5 separate regions of the Homo sapiens genome follow, and regions 1, 2, 4 and 5 are each linked to region 3. The links are contacts of gene promoters, found by promoter capture Hi-C in human tissues and cell types (Jung and others, 2019). All regions are on one chromosome and are shown on one strand. The core of a region is centred on a gene start or on the middle of the fragment in contact, and the rest is flanking DNA. Distances in the headings are between cores, read along the strand shown.

Region 1 (3,062 bases), core at 446-2,945, 480 kb after region 3:
CTGTGGTTAAGAGCACTAATGTTTTTGTTATGCAGACCTTGAGATCCCAGCCAGGCACCCTTGAATACGTACAGACAACTGCAAAACTCTTTCACTCCTCTCACCCTGAGAGCAATATCTACTCCAGCTATGCCCCCTGTCAGCAGGAAGAAGTTAGAGCTGTTGTTGGCCTTTTTTCATCTCCATAGCTCATACCTCAGGATTGAGATGTGCTGAAACCCAAGGAAGGGATTGAAATTGCCTTTGCAAAATTACAACAGTAAGATAAATCTTATATAGTTGATGCCATCTTGGTTCTAATCTCCAAGCTGCCCTTGGTCATTCCTAGGTGTAGGGCAAACTGACTTTAGGGAAATTTTAGTTAATAATTTAACTGTAGAGCAAGGATGATAATAGTCCTTCTCTAAACTAAATCACCTTTGTAAAACTAATTAATGAAAGCCCACAAGGTTAGGATTATAAGGGTCTGAATTCTGCTAAGATGTAGGCATAGTTAAATGATAATCAGCCATAGTTCCGGAGATCACAGGATTTGTAACTTCCCCAGTTATTCTTGTAAGTAACATTACTATTGTAGAAACTAAGATTGGACTTTTGCAATGTCTTTTCAGACTTTGCATTTCTGATTACTTGGCTGACTCCACCCAGACCTGTGACTCATGACTCAGCTGGTCCTGCGGCCCCCACCCAGAGGTGGACTAAGCACGCAATAACCATTTTCCACATCTTCCACATTTCCCCCATGATGGCATCCCCAACCAATCAGCAGCACCCATTCCCTAGTCCCCTGCCCACCAAACTATCCTTGAAAAACCCTAACCTCCAAGGGTTCAGGGAGACCAATTTGAGTAATAACTTCATCTTCTGCATGGTGTGGCTGGCCTCATGTCAATTAAACTCTTTCTTTACTGCAATGCCATTGTTTCAGTGAATTGGTTTTGTTAGTGCAGTGGGCAAGAAGACTCCACTGGGTGATTACAGGAGTTTGTCTTTAAATTGATACATTAATAGTCTAAAACGTAAGAATGAAAATTTTAAAAGACATTTGCCTTTTGGGTGTTGATTATATTTATTTCTTTTTGATAAATGTATAGCTGTGCATCATTATGCATTTATCAAGTACCTGACAGGGGCCAGATGCAGTGTAGGGCACTAAAATTAACCCTAGATTATCTCTGGTATTGGTAAGCAGGGAGGAACACCATAATTTATTAATTTTCCAATGCTCTTGAATTGCTACTGGAGTTCCTGCTAATCAATACAATCGATTCATTTGAGTGTCATTCTTTTTCCCTTCTTTGTCTTCTGGCTGCAGTGAGTGTGACTGGTGACCACCTACAGCCCAGGCTTCAGAAAGTTGCACTGTGTAGGAGGCAGAGTCTGGGGCACTGACCATCCACAATCAGAACCCAGCACTCTTGAGCTCCTTGAATGCTCAGTCAAGAAATTCTGACATCCTTCAAATTCAAATTAATTACATCTTGATTCTTTATTTTTAAAATGAAGGAAACTTGCAAAAGAGTACTCTATAAATAAGTTGAGTGAAATAGAAATGGAACATTAGAACCAAAGAAATGAGTCTATGAATATACTAATTGTAAGTAATTTGCCTTGTTTGAGACTTGAACTTGGCTTTGAGCTTCATGGAAGCCTAGACAAAAGAGAAATAGGATGAACTGTATCTTTATTCACAGCTCCCTGGAAAAGACAAATCTGACCATGCACCAAATCTCAGAAGGATTTTTATGGGGCTGCACTGGGAAAATCTGGGTTTGAGGGACACCTGCATTTCCCACTAAAACAATGACTGAGAGCAAATTATTAATCATCTATAGCATGATCCAGTTTCCTCCCCATTCTTCAGTGCGGTTAATAGTAACTGCTCTTCAGGGTTGCTGTGAGAATTAAATGAGGGGCTTGGTAGAGTGCATTTTGCATGACTGTTTATTGGAATCAATCTAATTTTTAATCTGTAGGGGCCTGGATAAATAAAGTCTGATACATTTCTACCATGGCATATTACATCTTCCTTCTTGCCTCACCCTCCTCTCCCCAACCACACCCTGTGTCAATGACTCTGCTGTTGATCCCAGGAGTGTATTTCCCCATCCCACAAATATTGGACTTGACCATATGACTTGCTTTGGGCCATGAGAAGTAGACAGAGGCAACTTGAGGGGCACTATGTGTTTCCATTCACTCCTCTTGAGCTTCTGCCATCACCATAAGAAGAATGACACTCTCTAGAACAGACATGGGAAGCAGACTGGACCCAACCTGAAGCTCAGAGTCAAGACGAGACCCTCAGTGTGAGTGAAGAAAAAGATAGTTGTTGGGAGTCATTGGTGATTTGTTATGCATCATTACTGTGACAATTAGCTGACTACAGTGGTCTTCTATGAACAATCCTGGAAGACATCTGTAATATATTAAGTGAGAATAAAAGTTTATAAAGCAGAATAATATAAAATTCTCCTTTAGTAGGAAAATATAAATGACCTCATTTTGTTAAAAAAGAGTTTGTTTATACGTACAATTAAAAAGTGTGAGGGATGGCATTTACATATTTAAAAGTATAAATTTGAAAACACACATTTATACACATTGAAAAGAAAACTGTAGGTAATTTTTCTTTATTGCCTTTCTGTGTGTGTGCGTGCACGTGAGTATGTGCACATGAATTAAGAAAGCTTAACAGACCAAACACGCAGCTTCAAAGCAGGCTGCCACTGCAGCAAAACTAGTGGCCGCAATGTCTGGGGGTGTCTAGGAGAATTTGTCTGCCTGAATTTTTTGCTCAGCCCTGCCCTTGTTGAAAACAGTCTTTCATTCTCTCAGCTACCTCTGGGCCAAGGAAGTATTGCCCAGAGCTGCACACCTAAGGAGTAGTGTCTTTAGGGATAGAAATCAAGTTGATTTGCTAGCTTGCATTCTTATTTCCTTCCAGAAATATCTGTGCGTGGGCACTATCCTAAGTACTCGGTGAGGCTGGAGTGAACAAGATATTCTCACAGAGCATTGGGAGATCAACTCCCAGACTAACACTTGATCCATTCTGCATG
Region 2 (3,062 bases), core at 505-3,004, 410 kb before region 3:
GGAATCCTAGTATTAATATATTCAATATATATTTACAGTATCATTTTGTGTTTATAAAAACCTCAAAACAGCTGCCAGAGAATATTTTGAATTGCTTCTCTCAATTATGTAATATAATTTTCCTTATATAATTTCTATTATGAGCTATGATACTCCTTTTTGTTTTACAAACAAAAATTTGAGATTATTGTAAATTCACATGCAGTTGTGAGAAATAATACAGAGAGATCCTGTATATCCTTCACTTGTTTTTCCCAATGGTAACACTTTGCACAACTATAGTAAAATATCACAACCAAGAAAATGACATTGATACAAATCATTAAAATTCACATTTTACCACTTTTACATGCATGCGTTTGGTGTGTGTATATTTAAATCTATGAAGTTTATTAACATGTAGATTCATGAGAACATCAACACAGTCAAGATATAAAATAGTTCTATTACAAATATCCTTTGTGCCATGCTTTTTTTTTTTTTTTTTTTTTTTTTTTTAAGACAGAGTTTTGCTCTTGTTGCCCAGGCTGGAGTGCAATGGGGCGATCTCGGCTCACCACAACCTCCACCTCCCAGGTTCAAGTGATTCTCCTTGCCTCAGCCTCCCAAGTAGCTGGGATCACAGGCATGCTCCACCACGCCCAGCTAATTTTGTATTTTCAGTAGAGACAGAGTTTCTCCGTGTTGGTCAGGCTGGTCTCGAACTTCCGACCTCAGGTGATCCGCCCACCTTGGCCTCCCAAAGTGCTGGGATTATAGGCGTGAGCCACTGTGCCCAGCCAGTGCCTTGCTTTTATAGCCACAGGCTTTTCCCTCCTCATCTCCCTAGTCAACCCCTAATCTGTAATTCATCTCTGTAATTTTGTCATTTTAAATTTGTTATATAGGGTGGGCATGGTGACTTATGCCTGTAATCCCAGTGCTTTGGAAGGTTGAGGCAGCAGGATCATGTGTGGTCAGGAGTTTCAAACCAGCCTGGGCAACATAGCAAGACCACATCTCTACAAAAAAATTTTTTAATTAGCCAGGTGTGGTGGCTGTAATTCTAGCTACTCGGGAGGTCGAGACAGAAGGATCACTTGAGCCCAGGAGTTTGAGGTTACAGTGAGCTATGACTGTGCTGCTGCACTGCAGCCTGGGCGACAGAGCAAGACCCTATCTCAAAGAAAAAAAAGTTATATAAATGGAATCATACTGTATTTAATCTTTTGAGATCATGTTTTCACTCAGCATAATTCTCTTGAGATTTATCCAAGTTATCGTGTATATCAGTAGACATTCCAAATGGTACAGTAATGTCACACCGAGAATCTGCTCCTCCATAAAAGCAATGAGGACATTAGCAAAAGCTGTTGACATAAACTTATTAGAATTGTGGAAATTAACAAAAGCTTGCCACATTCCAAGGAATGTTTACCTAAGAAAAACAGCTGAATCTCAGTAAGAACGGAAAGCCTATAGTGTTTTAACTTGCTCTAATCCTATACACCTCTCCCCAGTTCCATGGAAGCCTTGAAACTCAATAGCTTCACATTTATAGTAGTTGTGGAAAGTAGAGCTTAGCAGCCACTGGAGAGAAAAGAACAGATTTGAAGCCCAAAAAGGCTCATTCCCAGAGAATTAACCACGAGTTGACCTAACAGCTCACTGAAAATCTCCATAATCAGGACTTCTTTTAATTCGACCTATTTCAGAGTACACTCTGTATACAGCTTGATGTACAGGGCATTTATTTCTTAAAAAACAATCAGTAGTTCAACAAAAGAAATTAGACTTAACCAAAATGAAACTTTTGTGCTTCAAATCATAACATCAACATACATAATGTGAGTGAAAAAAAAGTAAAAAAACAACTCACACACCGGGAGAAAATATTTGCAAATCATATATCTGATAAGGGACATGTGTCTAGAATATGTAAAGAACTGATACAATTCAACAATAAAAAGACAAATAACCCAACTGAAAAATTGAGAAAAGATTTGAACAGACATTGCTTCAAACAAGATAGACAAATGACCAACAAGCACATGAAAAGATACTCAACACATTAGGGAAATACAAATGAAACCACAAGGAAATACCACTTTACACCTACTTGGATGGCTATAATAAAAAGCAAAAGCAGATCCTTTTGTAGTTTATAAGCGTGATGACTGGGGTTTCACGTGCATGTGTGAAATGTGCCTTCCCCAAGCCTTGTTATGACCTCATTGGAACATTACCCCTTTGACATGAAAATTCAAAAAAAGACAAAAGCAAGGATGGCAAGGATGTGGAAAAACTGAAATCCTCATACCTGCTGGTAGGAGTGTAAAATGGTACAATGGCTTTGGAAAACAGTTTTCTGTTCCTCAGAAAGTTAACAGAGATACCATATGACTCAGCAATTCCACTCCTAGGTACATAACCAAGAGAACTGGAAACATATGTACAGAAAAAACTGGTACACTAATGTTCATAGCAGCATTATTCATAACCGACAAAAAGGAGGAAAAACCCGAATGCTCATCAACTGACAAATAGATGAGCAAAAGGTCAATATCAGTGCAATGGAATCTTATTTATCCATAAAAAAATAGAGTTCTGATGCATGCTATAACAGAGATGACTCTTGAGCATATTAAGCTAAAGAAGCCAGAAACAGAAGGAAACATATTGTGTGATTCCATTTATATGAGAGATTCAGAATCAGCAAATCCATAGAGACAGAGAATAGATTAAGGATTGCTTAGGTCTGGGGCGTGAACATATGGACAATAAGGTGGAAATGGGGAGTAATGCTAATAGATATGGTAATGCTAATAGATATGGAGATTCTTTTGGGAGTAATGACAGTGTTTTGGAATTACTGGTGATTTTTGCACAATTATCTAAGTAGTGTTTGTATTGTCAGTGTTCTAAAAACAACTGAACTTTAAACTTTAAAAAGATGAACTTTATGGTATGTGAATTATATCTCAATAAAGCTTTTATTCTTAAAAAAAAGTTCATTTCCTTTTTATTGCCAGAGTATTCCATGGTATGTATATAACACAGTTTGTTTAATCATTCATCCACTG
Region 3 (3,323 bases), core at 730-3,229:
ATTTATAATTCATACACTTTTCTGTATTGAAGTTGCTAAAGTTTATAGGAGGCCGTAGTTTTGGACAAGCTTCCTGTACTAGCCCCCAGCACACCAGAGCAAACCAGAATAGTCACTTGTGCTAAGTGCCAAGTAATCAAACTGAACTTTGAAATCAGGGCCAGTTTTCCAAAAGCAGGAGATTCACAGCACCAATCAGAGGGGCCCTAGTTTACCTGAGCCAGCATGACAAGGAATCCCTCTGTTTTAACCCTATAAGGAAGGTAACTTTGAAATGACCAATCTGATTTTTGTTCCCTGTTTCTATTTTCTTCAACTCTTTTGTGCTTGTAAAGCCAAACCCCTCTGCTCAACTCACTGGAACACTATTCTAGAATCACAAATAAAAACCAATTATGCTAAATTTGCCATAATTTTGTTTTTTGACAAAGTTATGCTTTAATTTTTGTTTGTTTTTTTACAAATCAGACAAAGTAAGCATCCCCAAGTGTACTGTGTAGAGCATTCAGTCACAAAGGTTCTGTTAGTGTTAGTGGATCTCAGGAAGATCTGCTCAATGTAAGCTGTGTTTTAGTATCACAAAAACTCACCTCCCCACCTTGATTATTTTTTGAGAGGACAGGGAAAATGTTGATGTAAACTTTGGAATGCCTTTATGGAATTTTAGGCTAGTGGTTCCCATGTGTCCTATTAGCCAACATTTCCCACCAGATTTATTCTCATCCCCTTCCAAGTTTGGGAACCCCACATCTCTTCTGGGGTCACAGTTCCCTGTTTCATGAGGGACAGGTAAAAGCCAAGTCTCTCTCTTGCATCTTTTCATCCTTTTTTTTTTTTGAGACGGGGTCTCACTCTGTTGCCCAGGCTGGAGTGCAGTGGCACAATCTTGGCTCACTGCAGCTTCCGCCTCCCGGGTTCAAGCTATTCTCCTGCCTCAGCCTCCCGAGTAGCTGGGATTATAGGCACTCGCCACCACGCCAGGTTAATTTTTGCATTTTTAGTAGAGTCAGGGTTTCACTATGTTGACCAGGCTGGTCTTCACCCCTGGCCTCAAGTGATCTGCCCGCCTCGGCTTCCGTAAGTACTGGGATTACAGGTATGAGCCACTGTGCCCCCGGCGTAAATCTTTTTTTCTTTTCTTTTTTGTTTTTTTGAGACAAAGAATCTCGCCCTGTAGCCCAAGCTGGAGTGCAATGGCGCGATCTCGGCTCACTGCAGCCCCCACCTCCCGAGTTCAAGCGCTTCTCCTGCCTCAGCCTCCCCAGTAGCTGGGATTACAGGCGCCCGCCACCACGGCCGGCTAATTGTGTGTGTGTGTGTGTGTGTGTGTTTGTATTTTTTTTTTTTTTTTTTTTTTTTAGTAGAGATGGGGTTTCACCATGTTGGCCAGGCTGGTCTCGCACCCGTGACCTCAAGTGACCCACCCGCCTCGGCCTCCCAAAGTGCTGGGATTACAGGCGTGAGCCACCGTGCCCGGCCATAAAGCTATTTTTGAAAAATGAAACCTATGTCTCATTTTGACTCTACATCAAAAATAAAGACTGAAAGGAAACGCTAATTCATAGGGCAGCAGGTCTTTTAGTAATTTTTTTTAAACCTCTTTGGTGGCCATGGCGCATTTTGAGAACGTGGTGAACGCTGTAGACCCTTCCCCTCCAAACATCGCAAAATATTGTCTGTTAAAGAAGAGACTGATCTCACTGGCACCATCTGTAGTTTTTGCACAACTGGTCACGCCCTCCACTGTCGGGTTCGCCGGTCTGGGACCCGCCTCGGCCAGCGAACCTTTGCTGAACTCTGGCGAGGACTCCGCCTCTAGGACTACAATCGCGGGGTGGGTCGGGTCGCTTGGAGGCAACTGGCTCCGCCCGGCCGCGGGCGAGTCCGGAACACAGTTACCCGCCCCTGTAGCCCACCGGAGCGCAAAGGGGGAGGAAGGCGCCAGGCCGGAAGCGGAAGAGAGGGCGGGGACGTGTTTGGCAGCGGGACGCACCATTTCAGTTGTGTTCTTGGTTCATTTCGTGTCTCGGCGATGTTTCCTAGAGTCTCGACGTTCCTACCTCTTCGCCCCCTTTCCCGCCACCCTTTGTCCTCTGGAAGCCCGGAGACATCAGCGGCTGCGATTATGCTACTCACTGTTCGGCACGGAACAGTCAGGTACCGCAGTTCAGCGCTGTTGGCCCGGTAGGTCCTCAGGCAACCCCGTGCCCCGTCCTGTACATCCTCCGACTTCCTGGGGTCGATGTTACCACCTGCTGGGTCTTAGAAGCTATTGCTTTAAATCTGAGGAAAGAGAAATCCCAGAAAGAAAAGATGACTTGCCCAAGGTCATAGTGTGCGTGAAAACAGAGCTACGATTACAAACCTGGTCGCTGTGCTCTACTACACGCCGCGCCTCATTCCTCTTGTCATCATCTCCTGTCAGTTTACCCAGGTTTTTATCTTTTGCCTCCCAAGATTTATTTGATAGTCTCATTTGTTTTCCTTCATTTATTCTTTAGTTCATTACTGAAAAACTCGAAAAACAGCGTGCCAGTACTGGTTGTAAACCCCAAGTGAGACAGTCCTGCCATCACGGAGCGTGTAGTTCCAGAAAGTAGACAATTCAAGTGCTATGTAGTGAAGTAATAGCTGAGATAGTGTAGGTAAACAGAGTACACTATTCAGCCAACATGAATGAGTACTTGCTGGGATAGCAAATAGGGACACCTAACCATTATAGGGGAGACTCAGGATATCGTTTCTGGAAAAGTCTGACGAAATCTGAAGGAGGACCACTGGTTGAAGTTAGCCAGGAAAAAAGGGAATTGTGGCATACTTGGTTTTGGTATTTATCCTCCGAGAACTTTATTATGAAAACCTAATTCCGCTGCATAAATTCCATGCGTAACACTCAGAAGGCAGTTTGGTTAAGTACAGTGCTGAAGCAGGTTAGTAGCAGTGAAGATGGGAAGGACCAGCTGAATGGAGGAGAAAAATTGCACAGGTAGAATTAAAGGGATGTGACGTCATGGGATAATGGTAGGGTAGTCAGAGATAGCAAAAATTTCAACTGGCTGCGTTGGAGTATTAGGGTATCCTTAATGTTAACAGAAGAATGCGGAGCCAGGCTTGAGAAAGATTTTTCCATATATTATAATTTTTAGAAAACAACAAATACCTGTTTATGTTAGGGGGCCTTTTAATATAGAAAGTGTGAAAAATGGAAAGTCAGTCTGAAAGAGGAGTCTTGAATGTGGTGTTGAAGGTGTTGCATTTGAAGTACTGATGAGCTGCTGTCAGTGGAAACAAACTCAGGTGGGAGGTTAGGTCGAGAGGTTTAT
Region 4 (3,107 bases), core at 410-2,909, 500 kb after region 3:
GGAGAAAATAGTTTAGGGAATAGCCATGGGCTTGTTGTGTGGAATGGAAACATACCCAGAATGAAAAGATTTTTAAATTGGCACCACTTGAGGTCAGATTTTAAATGGTCACACAGCATGAGCCAAATTGACTACATGCAGAGAAGCAACAAGCCACCCCGGTTGCTTATATTATTTTAATAACAGAAAGAATGCATTAGGAATTCCAGGCAAGACTTCCACCTGGACACAGTCCCAGATTCTAACTCATCTGTGCATGCCTTTTCAAATCAGCCTTTCACAAAGAGGCTGTTTTTCTCTGCAATCTCTTTCCTACCCATAAAGGAATCTGAGGTTCCTCCTTCCAGCTTCGGTTGTAGGAAGCAAGAACCCTGAGAGTGCTGCCTTGAGACAGGTGGCTCTGTGGAAGGCCACTAAGAAAACTGCCATGCAGTTCGGGGTGGCCTTAAATTCAAATAACAAAGCCTATCTCGGGAGGTGGCGTGAGGCATGCCTGGCCCCTTTCTCTGGCTTGGACTGGCTTGGACATGGTGGCTCCTGGAACCGAGAGAGGACTGAGTGTGGTAGTTGCTCCTGTCAGTCTCTGGGGTGGGGCCTGGGTGTCTCTGAGTGACGTTTGGCCTCCGCTAGCTCCACTCATGTGGCAGGAAGATGCCTGTAGCTCTTGCCGACCACTCTGAGCCACAAGGCAGGAAGGAAAACCGTGTGTGTGGCCTGATAATAATTAGGGTCCTTCCTTACACCTGGAACATTGCTGACACTGAAAAATGAATGCTGCTGTCATGCTTGTTAATTTTACCCTCTTGGGTCCTGAATGGCTCACTTAGCACTTGACTATTTTTCCAAGTCACAGAGACCAGACTAGATTTTTCTGGAAGGGAGTCAATTCTGTTCTCAGCCACAGATGGATCAAAAAGGAAAAATCTCATTGCTGTAAACATGTTGGAGCCTCCTGGCTGTGTTGTATTCACCTTCTTCAATCTGGGGGGAGTCTCTGGAGTCAGGTTAGGTTAGAGTCTTGACTCTACTAGCACTTGCCTCTAGTGAGCTTGGATTTGTTACTTAATATTCCTGAGCCATTTTTCCCTCATTTGTTGAAAAAAAATATAACAGTTGTTAAGAGGATTAATTGCAAAGTTCTTAGCACATGGCCTGGCACATAGGAGGTGCTCAAAGGGAGTATTGATGTAATTAAGAGACTTACCATGGAGTCAGGTTTAAGAAATCTCTGGAAGTGGAATCCTGGGAAGTGATGAAATGGGAATACCCTAAGTTGCTCCCCTGTGCCCACTTCTGGGGAGATGTCACCATTGTTATGGCACCCAAATTTCTGGGCAATTAGGGATCTGTGTTAGACCCAGATACCAACAGGAAGTGGCTCTTTCTGCTGATGGTGTTTATAACAAACCCCATGGACCAGCTCTCAAAAAGAGAACCCAGCCTCCTTAGCAAACTCAGCTGTGGAGTATAAGCTCCTCTAAGGGAAAAACCTCATTTGCTTTTGTGCACTACTTTGTCCTATGCAGAGTATGGCATATCATGGGGACTCATTTTGAGGTGAAGAAAGTGATGATGGAGGAGCACAGAGCTGAGGGCCCCATGTCGATTCCTGCGTCAAGCTGCAACTCATGTTGTGCCGAGCACAGTCAAGGGAAATGGAGCTTGCTATCACAGGATATTAATTTGGTTCTTGGGGACTTGCTTTGGGCAATTGCAGAGACACAAACTAAGATGGCTTTATTAATAGAAGAAAATGTCCTGGCACATAGACTGCTCAGGATGTAAAGAAATAAGAAACTGATCCAAGAAACAGCTGTATCTTAGCTACACTGGTTGAAGGTTATCACTAGTTTCTTAGGGGGAGAAAATTTAGGACCAGGTTCAATTGTCTAGAATATCTAGTGAAATAATAGACAATTCTCATTACAGAATACCAGTCCAGTCTTCTCAAAAAGTCTTATTGTCAATTTCATATGGGGTTCAGTTAAAGACTTCCTCCAGATACTACTGACTGTTAGAATCAAGGTTCTAGCCTGGTGTGGTGCCTCGTGCCTGTAGTTCCAGCTACTCTAGAGGCTAAGGTAGGAGGGTCACTTGAGCCCAGGAAGTTGAGACTGCAGTGAGCTATGAGTGAGTTACTGCACTCCAGCCTGGGTGACAGAGAAAGACCCCATCTCTAAAAAAAATAAATAAATAAGAACCAAGGATCTGATATTTGAGTGGGAAAAACTGAGTGTTAAAAACATTAATCCTGCTTAGGTGGGATACATGGTGCAGAGGACGTGATCTGCTCTTGGTAATAATACTGTATATTATATTTTTGGCTTTGTTAAACCATAGTCGCTTTGTTAAACCATAGTCACATCTCTACTTTCATTTTATCCTCACATTATGCATGAGAGGTTAGCAGGACAGAGAGAGTGACTAGTATTGTCCTAATTTTGTAGTTGAGAAATTCAGGTTACAGTTTACTTTACTAGGAAAGGGCAGATTCTGGGTTTAGTTGGAGCAAGAAACTTGAGTCCCCAGCTGCAGGGTTCTTTGTCTACATCCTGTTAAATCATGGTTTAAACTGCCCAGACTGAAGACCCTGCACCTTCAGTCATGTCATGGGTCATGCTTCTATCTTCCAGCCCAGGAGGGTGGCCTGGTGGGATAGATAATGACTGCTATAAGGAAGGGTCTGGGAGGGGCAATGACGTGGCAATGATGGGTGTACATGAAGATGAGGGGAGGGAAGAATTTTCAAACCATCCGTGCACAGCTGACTTTTGCTTAACCAGAAATCTCATCTTCCAGAAGAATTTGGATCATGGGAGCAGGTTTTGAAAGGGGATCACTCAGTTTAAGTGGTGTCTGTGAATAGCAAAAGCAGCAGCCGAGCCTTGTCCAGTCTGTTTGCCCAGCCAAATCCAAAGAATCTGGGAATGCGATGATGACAGAAGCCTTGGGTAATGACTGCAGCCATCACATATTTTGACTTTCATCAAATGACTAGTATGTCCAGACAGAGAGACCTTGCTGTCTGAACCATCTGGTCAGTCCTGGAAGGACTGGCCATCTGGGAGTCAGCACAGAGCTCTCAGTGAGGGCTTCTCCCTGCAGCT
Region 5 (3,000 bases), core at 334-2,833, 260 kb before region 3:
TCAACTGTCATTTTTTTCTCAGACCTTATCTAACTTGATCTGCCATCAGCATTTGGCACAGTTGCTCATTCCTTATTCTTGGAAACACACATGCCTTTTTTTCTTCCTACATTTCTGAGTATTCCTTTTAGCCTTCTTTGTTGTTATGCCTCATCTTTTCTACTTCTAAATGATGGAGTGTCCCAAGAGTCTGTCATTGTTGCTTTTCTAACCTATAGCTTTAATATTATATACATGTTAATGTAATATAAATATAAATATATATATATGGTAATTATTCCCAAGTTTATGATCTCTAGCCCATACCTTTAACCTGGGCTTTAGGACTGTATATTCAACTCCAGGACTGCATATCTAATTTGGTGTCTCTAGTCTGATAACTAATGAGCATCTGAAGCTTAATGTGTTCAGAACTGAACTCTGATATTCCTCTACCTCAAACCATTGCCATTTGTCATCTTTCCTGTCTCAGTTTTGGTAACTGCAGTCTTTCCAGTTGCTGGAGAAGGAGGGCGCCCCAGCTCCAAGAAAGAGAGAATTCACCTTTCTATCCAGGTCCTTAGCCAATTGATGGTGCCCACCCACATTGGATGAGGGCAGATCTTCCTTATGGAGTCCACTGATTGAAATGCTTATCTCCCTGGGCACTTTGGCTCACGCCTGTAATCCTTGCACTTTGGGAGGCTGAGGCGGGTGGATCACTTGAGCCCAGGAGTTCAGGACCAGCCTGGGCAACATGGCAAAACCTCGTCTCTCCAGAAAACATAAAAATTAGCCAGGCATGGTGGTGCATGCCTGTAGTCCCAGCTACTCGGGAGGCTGAGGTGAGAGGATCACCTGAGCCTGGGAGGTTGAGGCTGTGATCAGGCCACTGCAGTCAGGCCTGGGCAAGAGATCAGGACTGTTTCAAAAAAAATAAAAAAGAAATGCCAGTCTCTCTGGAAACACCCTCATCCTCACAGACATACCCAAAAATAATACTATACCAGTTATCTGGGTACCTCTTAATTCAGTTAAGTTGACACCTGAAATTAACCATCACAGTTCCACCCCTTGTCAACTTGGCACCCATGTGGCACCCATGTGCACCTACTTAAACCATATTTAATCTCCGAATAGAGACAATTACGAAATTGTAGCTCTGCCTAAAATGATACAACTACCCTGCATACAATTGAAAATGCACTGATTTATCCTCAGAAGAGGAGGTAAAGCTCTTGAATGTTGTTCTCTTATGTCCCACAATTTAATTATATGATGTAAAATTAACAATACTTGGCCGGGCATGGTGGCTCACACCTGTAATCCCAGCACTTTGGGAGGCCGAGGCAGGCAGATTACGAGGTCAGGAGTTTGAGACCAGCCTGGCCAATATGGTGAAACCCCGTCTCTAAAAATACAATAATAAAAATGGAAAAATTAGCCGGGCATGGTGGTGTGCACTTGTAGTCCCAGCTACTCGGGAGGCTGAGGCTTAAGAATCGCTTGAACCTGGGAGGCAGAGGTTGCAGTGAACCAAGATTGCGCCACTTCACTCCAGCCTGGGCAACAGAGTGAGACTCTGTCTCAAAAAGATAAAAAATAAATTAGCAATACTTAAATACTGATATAAAGTAAATACATCTTATATTACATAGTAAAGGAATAAGAGGAAAGAACACAAAGATATTTGCTTTGTTATATCTATGTATATATACACACAAATGTATTCTGAACAAAATAGGGAGAATATAGTCATGACAGTTAAAATCCTCATTTCCCTAACTGGTCAGGTGGTTATAGCTGGCATTGATTACTGCCTTCTTGTACTACATATTCTGTATTCTGTTTGCCTTCAGCAAACGCCTTAGCTGGTCGTGGTTCTTTATTTGGTGGGGTGACCCAAAGCTTCATTCTTAAAGGGTCTGGGCTATTAGTAGACCTTCCTGGATTGGGTTGTTGTAGTTTCCCGTTGACTTATTTAAAGGGCATGATAATACAAAGAGATGCCCCAAGGGATCTCCTGTATTCCAGACATACTCTTCTTTATCTGCACTGTGAGTTAGTAGTCCAGCTTCCCATTCCTAGTTTAGATTAATCACCCCCAGCTATGTTGACTCAGAGGCATGAGGAGCCCAAAGTGGCTGGATGGTAGTTTTGACTCCAGTTCCATGGAATCATTATTGTGTTTCCTGGTGGAAGTATTCCTCTCTCTCTGGAACTAAGACTTCTAGGCCAAAAGAGCATAAAGTTACGGGAACAGGAAGTAAAAATTTTGCTTGTGGGTAATGGTGAGTAGTGCCATTCCTATTTGTATTCCTTAGTTCAGGAAACAAGGAATATTGACTCCTGGCTGTGGGAAAAACAGTACCATGTAGTGGATGCTAACTCAGAATGTGTACAGCCTTCTGGAGAACCTAGTGCTAGACCTGCAAGGTATTATCACCTAGCTGGCACTGTAACTGAATCTTCTAAGGGCCATTTCACCATCCTGTCAAGCTAGCTGCTTCAGGATGGCAGGGAACATGGTAAGACCAATGAATTCCATGAGCTTGAGCCCATTACCCCACTTTTGTGACTGAGATAAGTTCCATGGTCAGAAGCAATGCTGTGTAGAATGCCATGATGGTAGATAAGGCATTCTGTGAGTTCATGGATGGTAGTTTTGGGAGAAGCATTGTGTGCAGGAAAGGCAAATTTGTATCTAGAGTGTCTATTGCAGTAAGAACAAACTGCTGCCCCTTCTGTGATGGAAGCAGCCACCAGGTAGCTGGCGGATCACCCCAGGGAATGGTGCCATACTGGGGGCTCATTGCTGGTCTCTGCTGCTAGCAGATTGGGCACTCAGCAGTGGCCATACCCAGGTGAGCTGTAGTGAGTGGAAATCCATGTTGCTAAGCCCGTGAATAACCTCCATCCCTGCCACCATGTCCAGGATGAGCCCCCTGGGCAATGACAGGTGGCTGGGGAAAATGGCTGACTGGTATCCATAAAACAGGTCATGCTATCCACTTGATTATT

The links. Contacts are between HindIII fragments. The study calls those that stand out against the background at their distance.
Region 1: a fragment that was not itself captured here is called in contact with the fragment with the promoter of MRPS31 in region 3 in 1 of the 25 tissues and cell types used here (H1 embryonic stem cells).
Region 2: a fragment that was not itself captured here is called in contact with the fragment with the promoter of MRPS31 in region 3 in 1 of the 25 tissues and cell types used here (H1 embryonic stem cells).
Region 4: a fragment that was not itself captured here is called in contact with the fragment with the promoter of MRPS31 in region 3 in 1 of the 25 tissues and cell types used here (hippocampus).
Region 5: a contact is called between a fragment that was not itself captured here and the fragment with the promoter of MRPS31 in region 3, in 1 of the 25 tissues and cell types used here (spleen).

Annotation. Positions count from the first base shown.
Region 1 is chr13:40,293,964-40,297,025 of GRCh38, reverse strand. No RefSeq gene overlaps it. Among named protein-coding and RNA genes, the nearest start is that of LINC00548, 75 kb to the right of the region's middle. The HindIII fragment of the contact is 7,754 bases long and covers 1-3,062 here.
Region 2 is chr13:41,179,154-41,182,215 of GRCh38, reverse strand. The region is part of intron 3 of KBTBD6-DT (KBTBD6 divergent transcript); the gene reads right to left. LOC124903260 (small nucleolar RNA U13) reads left to right here and starts at 2,129; the gene lies at 2,129-2,235. The HindIII fragment of the contact is 4,947 bases long and covers 1-3,062 here.
Region 3 is chr13:40,769,846-40,773,168 of GRCh38, reverse strand. It overlaps MRPS31 (mitochondrial ribosomal protein S31), which reads left to right and starts at 1,979. Exons shown (of 7, transcript NM_005830.4): 1 at 1,979-2,184. The coding sequence starts at 2,033. RefSeq lists an enhancer at 1,921-2,090. The HindIII fragment of the contact is 6,562 bases long and covers 1-3,323 here.
Region 4 is chr13:40,269,226-40,272,332 of GRCh38, reverse strand. No RefSeq gene overlaps it. Among named protein-coding and RNA genes, the nearest start is that of LINC00548, 50 kb to the right of the region's middle. The HindIII fragment of the contact is 5,758 bases long and covers 1-3,107 here.
Region 5 is chr13:41,027,320-41,030,319 of GRCh38, reverse strand. It overlaps a transcript of ELF1 not described here. Among named protein-coding and RNA genes, the nearest start is that of ELF1, 9.5 kb to the right of the region's middle. The HindIII fragment of the contact is 3,245 bases long and covers 1-3,000 here.